Linked DNA regions of Homo sapiens: region 1 is linked to region 2. Evidence: promoter capture Hi-C in 16 types of primary human blood cells and fetal thymus (Javierre and others, 2016). All regions are on one chromosome and are shown on one strand. Each heading gives the region's core, a stretch centred on a gene start or on the middle of the fragment in contact. The rest is flanking DNA. Distances are from core to core; before and after follow the strand shown.

Region 1 (3,835 bases), core at 822-3,321, 53 kb after region 2:
TTAACCACAATGAGGTAGAAGCATACAATACCAATGCCACTATGGAATATAACAGCTAGAAACTAACAGAGATTGCTGAGTATCAATTAAGGTTGTATATTTGAAACATGCTGAGTATCCAAGAGTTTATATAGAAATTGTAAACATCATTTAAATATCATTATTAAATATTATAAATAAAGCTTATTATATTTTCTAAAGAAAAAGAATACACTCTAGAAGAGAAGGTCGAATCCTGAACTCCAACTAAATCCCCATTCCTTTTGCACCTGTGTTTGCCAAAGGAAAACAGTATAAAATAAGGTTAACAAAAAACTGCAGCTTGCAAAAGCAGGAGAAATCTGAGATATCCTGCAGCCTGTCCTCTCACGGATATGTGGATGTGAATGAAATGACCATACTCAACAGAGACAAAGTAAAGGAGAAAGAGTATGGGAATTTACAACCTTGATAATATGGGATTATGAATAGTTTATTTGCTATGTCTTCTCTTCCTCCTATTCTTCTTTCCTTTCTCCTTTTCTTTCTCCTTTCTTCCCTTATGTTCTTCCTTCCACCTTCCCTCCCTCCCTTTCTAAATATATGCTTGGAGTGCTTCAGGTTGTTAACTTAAAATATATGTTACATGTTTTATATGTTTAATATATATATGTATATATTATACACACACACACACACATATGGAAAGAAATCTTGGTTAGTACACTACTCTTTGAAGAGTTTATGTTCATGCCATCTGACCCTCACAGTAATTAAAAGAATAGGTGAGGCAGGCGAAAATCATCCTTTATATAAATTGGGAAACCAAAACCCCAAATGGTGAAATGATTCTTCCCAGATAACAACCTTGTCAAATACCCCTTCCAGTTGTCATGAGAATTGGGGCTGAGGTCTCACAATTAAACTAGGTCTAAGGTAAAGCGAATGAGGAAATAGGCAAGGGATTATTTTCAAGTGGAAAACATGCTGGGTAGCATCAGTACATTAAACTTAGTAGGTTTGTTAATGGTTTTAGTAATTTCAGAGACAATGCAGATTTTAATATTCTATAGAATTTTTGCTGACAGTATTTTTAAAATTAAAATCAATAGGCAAAATGAGACACCCAAACACCCAATCTCTCTCATATTAATGACACCTGACTCTTCCCTATACTACTCCACAAATATTTCTTAAGTTCCATATATACCGCCAAATAAGATGATTCCCTCATTTCCCAAATAAAAAATTCAAAAAGAGATAGATTTTGGGGGAATTTTGTATATATGCCTTTTAAGGATGTAGATGGAAGAGTCAAACGTTTACCTATTTTATTTAATAATTTTACTACATATATATTTTTAATGTTATATAAAATAAAATAAAAAACTAGAATTTTTCCACTTTCACATTTTCTTTTAAAATTGCCTTTAAACTCTCCAAGTGAATCTCAAGAGTGTCATCATTTGAGCCATTTTTTCAGTCATTTAGTTTAGCTTCTAGACTTTATCCTCTTGTAATTGTAACATAAGACTTTGTAAGACCTTAAATATAAAATGACTTCTCTTGTCTGCAGTAGAATTTTGGGGGAAATCCTTGCCTTTCTGTGGTAGAACTTTGGGGGAAATCCTTGGGTCTGTATAACAGATGAAGAGCTTTGTGCTCTGTGACTCCAGGACAGAGTATTTCCCCTTGGGTTAAACAGTCCAGTCTCTGACCGTCCCAGGGAATGGGGCTGCCTACATGCAACACTGGGAAAGCTGGAGAACTTCAGGTCAGGATGGAAAGCTGTCAATGAGATGAGGTATCAACCTGCAGATACATATTCGAGACATCGCTTTACAAGGCCAGAAACCAGGCCTTGCTTCAGTATATGGCCATGGTTCCCTTGCTAGCTGCTTTCTGGCAGTGGTGATAAGATTCCACAGAGTATCTGCTTGAAATGTTACACATTTATTCATCATCATCATTTCAGAACCTTTTTTCAGAGCAGTTGACATTTAGACCTCTGAATGAGGATTATTTTGGAATGGGCCATGTATGGGGAAAAATGTGGATGATGATGGCTGTTCCAGAGATGGCAGAAATGAAGATCTCAGATTGGAAACTAATTTTAGTCATGCTGCACATGCTCATCCCCTGTCACGCTCCTCTATATCTCGCCTCTCACCGAATGGTCTGCTCATGCTGCAGGCAGTGCCCGATAGCATTTATGGGCATCTTCATGATGCTCTTCCCAAAATGTTTTGTAAAAACTTAGCATTGCTCTTTGATACCAATGACTTATGAGAACGACTTGTATCATTCCATTGCCCAAAGAGCATCGACAGATGTCAGGATACTGAAATAGCTGCAGAAGCCGCTGCCAGCACACATTTTGCAAGCAAAATTTGCAGGGTGGCAGATTACAATGACAGAACTTTGGGGAGGAGTATTCATCACAAGATGGAATCAAGTGGTTCACACGTTGGCATTTTCCCAGTTGGTGATTGTTAGTAAATTCAGAGGCATCCTACCAGGCAGATTGCCTCTGCCCAAAGACAGCCTGAATCACCGACACAATAGCATTCTGACGGGAGTGTATTAGGGCAGGACCCACTCATATTTCATATACATGTCTTCTCCTGATGTTTCATATTGCTATTCAATTTTCATGAGTTTATATCTTATCTCCTAATTGGTTTATGATTGGAAATCTAGGACTTGTTTGGGCCACCATTGGAAAGACAGGAGCTTAATGTGGAAATGAGATTCTTGTCCAACAGGTTGAAGATTCTTGACAGGAATCAGAGATAACTGACAAAAGGGGTGGAGATGGGGCCTGCTGGGAGATGTTACTGCTTGAGGAAGATTGTTCTGTACCCTTTGGAATACAAGAAAAGATATGGAAAGGATTTCCTTGGGCTTTTATTAGCATTAACCATTCCTTTCTCTGCTTTCTTGCTCATGTATTCTGCTAACACTTATTAAGCATACACTCTGTGCTAGAAACTTGAATAAGGACTTCTTTGTAGCCCTTATTTTCTCTCCAACTCCTTTAATGTTTTATTTAATACAATATTTAAGAGCACAGTATTTTTGCATCACACAAACCTTTTGATGTATCACACAATAAGACCACTTATTGACAATATCAACTCAAACAGATGACTGAATCTTTCTGAGACTCTGTTTTCCAAAAAATGGAGATCAGAATATTTCCTACCTCATGGGATTGTTGTGAGACCAAATCAAATAGTGATTATAACATATTTTAGGTCCAATTGCTGATAAATTGTAAGCAATTGCTATCATTATTTAGTGCAAGTTTTTTTATTGGACTGAAACTTTTGGATGTCAAAAATGGTAGAATATTGATAACTTCACATGGATCAACTTAATATATGCTTTGTTTTCTAGATGGGTTTATGTTGGTTGTCATCATAAATCTTCTTTATAGTGTAAATGAGAAAAGAACCATGGTGTCCAAAGACTGGAACCAAGCCTCCACATTATAAGTTTATGAAAGCCAGGATTATACTTTGTGTAATTGAGCACTAAACTTGAGGCTCTCTACATAGAAGATGGTAAATGAATATTAGAATAATGAATTCATATGTTTGAGATATTTGGACTTTAGGAAATAGGCAACTATTTTTAATCACTTGATTTTCATTGGCCATAAAATTTCATTTCTGATACCTAAGAGCAAGTTGACACAATCACTTTAAAAACATGAATAGTAAATATTTATGAGCTGGCCTGGTTGAGTTTGGGAACTAGATCTGTCATATACAAACCATCTGACTTCAAATCAGTGATTCTTGATGAAAAACAAGGCTGTGAAAATCATAACATGACAATGGTTAAGGGTGAG
Region 2 (3,837 bases), core at 1,206-3,705:
AGAATGATGGGAGGGAGGCCCTGAGGGTGGAGCTCCAGCTGCCACTCAGAAGCTCAGGGTGGCATCTGGCCAGCAGCAGCAGAGAGGCTGGAGCCAGGGGGCTTGTGGCTCAGATGATGTCCCAGGAGAGAATATCGACACAGCTGTGTAACTGTAGCTTCTATTTCTTCTGATGCTGGAAACTCTCTTAGAATCATAGGATAAAAACTGGAAAACACTCTGATTGTATTTAATTCAACCTGTTTATTTAACGGACAGGGGAACTGAGGCCCAGAAACATAAATTAAATGGCCAGTGCTCACACAGAAATTAGGAAGAGGATTGAAGGAGGTGATTTTGGAGGGCTCCTCTAACCCATGATTCAGTGATTCTTGTGGTTCTTGCTTTCTCTCCAAGGGTTCTTTCCCCCAAACTGCAACCATGGTGTGAACCCCATTGAACATCCGTTGCTGAGTGCTTCCAGAATATAGAGCTCTCCTCAGCTCATGATCACAACCAAGACCCACCTAATATGATGCCAGTTTTTCACCTACTGTGTATTCCCAATACTATTTTAAAACACTGGTTCTCAGTCTTGGTGGCACAAGAGAATTACCTTAGGAACTGTAAACAAAAATTCTGATGCTCAGATCTTACTTCATATCAATTGAATCAGAATCTTTCGGGATGGGGCCTAAGAATTGGTAGTTAAAAGAAAAATTCCCAGTTGATTCCAATATACAATCAGGATGGTTAAATAGTTTTAAAACTGCTAAGTTTGGCTTTAGTCATGACTAATGGTAATATTAATTCTACCTGCTCCCCTTTCCCATCTCCAGTTAACACAGCTACATTCTCTGATTTACAGGCTGATTTTTCATGTGTTTATTCATCTAGGATAAGACATGATTAAGTGATACAGAATGGATTTATGTTATATGCCCATTATGCAGATGGTGAAAAGTGAGCCCAAAATTTTTTTAAAAAATGAGTATAACAGTAGCTTAGTATGAACAAATCCAAGGATTTTGAGAATTCCTAAATATATGGGGACACTGTTTACTTGCTTTAAGGATTGACTCTAAACATAGGCAAAGAAGATAAGCACTTGAGGGCCTGATTTAAAGAGTCCCGAGAATAGCTCTGATGAAAATCATCTCTTTTTCAGACTCATGTTAGATTGAGAAATCCCTACCAGTAGCCTTTGGAATATTAACCACAAACGTGATATTTCTGGGAGACTCCATGAAGCCTCCATTAATCGTTAGTATCATCTTTATATTAGTTATCTGCTTCCCAGCAGAAAGCTGTGTAATGAAGGAACGAGAGCCTGGCCAGATAAGCAGTGCTGTGGGTGGAGGAACAGATCAAGAGTATGGATGTTGGCCAGGCACAGTGGCTCACGCCTGTAATCCCAGCACTTTGGGAGGCCGAGGCGGGCAGATCACGAGGTCAGGAGTTCGACGCCAGTCTGGCCAACATAGTGAAACCCTGTCTCTACCAAAAATACAAAAAATTAGCCGGGTATGGTGGTGTGCGCCTGTAATCCCAGCTACTCTGGAGGCTGAGGCAGGAGAATCACGTGAACCTGAGAGGCGGAGGTTGCAGTGAGCCGAGATCTCGCCATTGCACTCCAACCTGGGTGACAGTGGGAGACTCTATCTCAAAAAAAAAAAAAAAGTATGGATGTTACCTAGGAGTATTGCAGTGTGGGCCCCTGGCTGCCTTAGGTGGGGTGAGGGTGCAAAAATCAGGCCTTAAAAAGGGAAACGGGGACTCATCATCAGGGTGGACGGAGAAATGGTTTGCCCCCACATACACCTGATACCTGCTCAAAGTTGGCACTTGTCCTCCTTCCTTCTCTCTGTTCTCCCTTATTGATGTCCTTTCAGTCCTGCTGAGGCCAGCCCATGCTAAACATCACCCTGGTTCTTGGGTCTTTGTTCAGCATCAGTAGCAATATCATGACAATAACTACCAATAATAAGCAACAAATACCATTTTAATACTTTCTGGTGAGCACTGTATCCATGTCATTTCCTTTAAATCTCAAATCAACTCTTTTCTGATTGCAATCAAACCTGTTTTACTGAGGTCTCAATGTGGCTTAGCTAGGAACTGAAGCGTATATACAGTCTACACAAGGCTACATTATCCTTGCCCTCACATAGGGAGGAAGTACAACATAGAAAATGACCCCTTGGCAGAGATGGACTAAAGCAAAATCTGCAAAGACTTTTTCTTTAAAAGGCTGGCAGGGATTCTGGAAAGAACCACTAACTGCCTTGTCTGACTCAGCATCAAGATGGAAAAATATACAGAGGCTGTTGCCTTCCCCACAGCCTAAGTCAAATCCACCTGCTTGCTCTGAGGCTGTCTGGGAGGCCACACATCACCATGCCCTTTCCTGGAGTCAATTCTTGGTCCCATGTCATTAGCCCCACCCTCGAAAGAACTCTGGGAATGGGGTTGCCTTGGAGTCCCCGGTTCCGTGTGGCTAAAGAGTGAGCCTCTCATATCTCCATGCTGAATTTCCTCACTCATTCACAACCCTCCTTTCCATTTCAAGAAATCTTTCTGTTCCCACAAGCCTGGGAGGGCCTTTGAGTGGGGCATATTGGGTAAGTTTGAAGGAGTACTGCCAGTGAGACCTTCAAAAGACTCTGTGTGAATGGGCTGGTGTTGGTGGGAGGAAACAGGGTCACAGATTCCCCTTCCCTTCCCCCTTGTAAGATGTGTCATCAGTTAAATATAGGCTCTGGCCCTGTGGACGTTTACAGGCTAAGACAGCCCGCCCTGACTGGGGCTCACAGCTTCTGAGAGGAGGACACTGGGATGTCTTCAGCCCATTTCACGTGGGCTGACTGTTTCCAAAACACTCCTGGTGGGTCAGCGAGCAGAGGAAGTGTTACCATGTGATCACTTTAGAAACACCCACCTAATGACGCACTAACACGGATTTGCCCTCTGTTTTTCACATTTGATCATTCCTGACACTTTGGCGAGGAAACAAAACCCTATTTCTCTTAGAAGTCACTCCTTCCCTGGATGTGAAAGAGGGCAGTGGTTTCCCTGTCAGTCCTCTTTTAGGGAAAGATCTGGGTGAGCACATGACCCAGCTCAGCTGGTCTGGGGCTGGACACAGACACAATTGTGAGAACTTGAACTGACTCACCAGGAAGCAGGTGGTTGGGACTAGGTACTGTTGTCTATTTCAGTGCTAGATATTGCCTTTAATGAAAAACTAGCCCCAATCAGAAAAAAGCCAACACCACGCTCTGCAATACTAAGTTGACTCACCTGTTGAAATGCTGTTTATTAAGCAAAACCAGTATCCTCAGAATTCCAGCTTTCACTTTCAAGTTTCTTATGTGGGATTTCATAGTATTGGGCCCAGTGATGTGTACATCAATGGTTTGGCTTGCTGTTTATGCTACTTATTTACTCGAGCAGTCACTCTGGTGTGTTCCCATGGCTTTTCTGAAAGTATTAGAATACAGCTCCCAAAGAATGTGAGTGCTATTGGAGAAATAAAATACATGGAAATCATATGGCATCCAGCAATTGCTATGCCTATCTTGAGATAGCTGATCCCTAGATAAGCTTGGTAGTTGTGTTACCAATGATGTCTTTTCTTAGTACACATAGATTGTACTCAAGGAATAGCAAAATGTTACAACACTGATTCTTCCTCCTATAGTTAATGGCATTTTAAAAGAGTTATGCTTGACTAAAGACATAGTTTTTAAAAATGCAAATATTGAGTGCTTTCAATTCCCTAAGCATGGTGTTTTCTGCTTTACCTGCAATGTATTAATTAATTTTCACAGAAAACTATGAGGCAGCGGCTACTATCAT

Evidence for each region. Contacts are between HindIII fragments. The CHiCAGO score rates a contact against its expected background, and 5 or more counts as called.
Region 1: a fragment that was not itself captured here is called in contact with the fragment with the promoter of LINC01888 in region 2 in 1 of 17 cell types (naive CD4 T cells); the score reaches 5.4 in naive CD4 T cells.

What each region holds. Positions count from the first base shown.
Region 1 is chr2:68,883,398-68,887,232 of GRCh38, forward strand. No RefSeq gene overlaps it. Among named protein-coding and RNA genes, the nearest start is that of BMP10, 14 kb to the left of the region's middle. The HindIII fragment of the contact is 3,782 bases long and covers 181-3,835 here.
Region 2 is chr2:68,829,553-68,833,389 of GRCh38, forward strand. It overlaps LINC01888 (long intergenic non-protein coding RNA 1888), which reads left to right and starts at 2,456. Exons shown (of 2, transcript NR_183895.1): 1 at 2,456-2,600. It overlaps LINC01890 (long intergenic non-protein coding RNA 1890), which reads right to left. Exons shown (of 4, transcript NR_183884.1): 2 at 3,280-3,498; 3 at 1,808-1,953. RefSeq lists a cis regulatory region at 1-181 and an enhancer at 1-366. The HindIII fragment of the contact is 9,437 bases long and covers 1-3,580 here.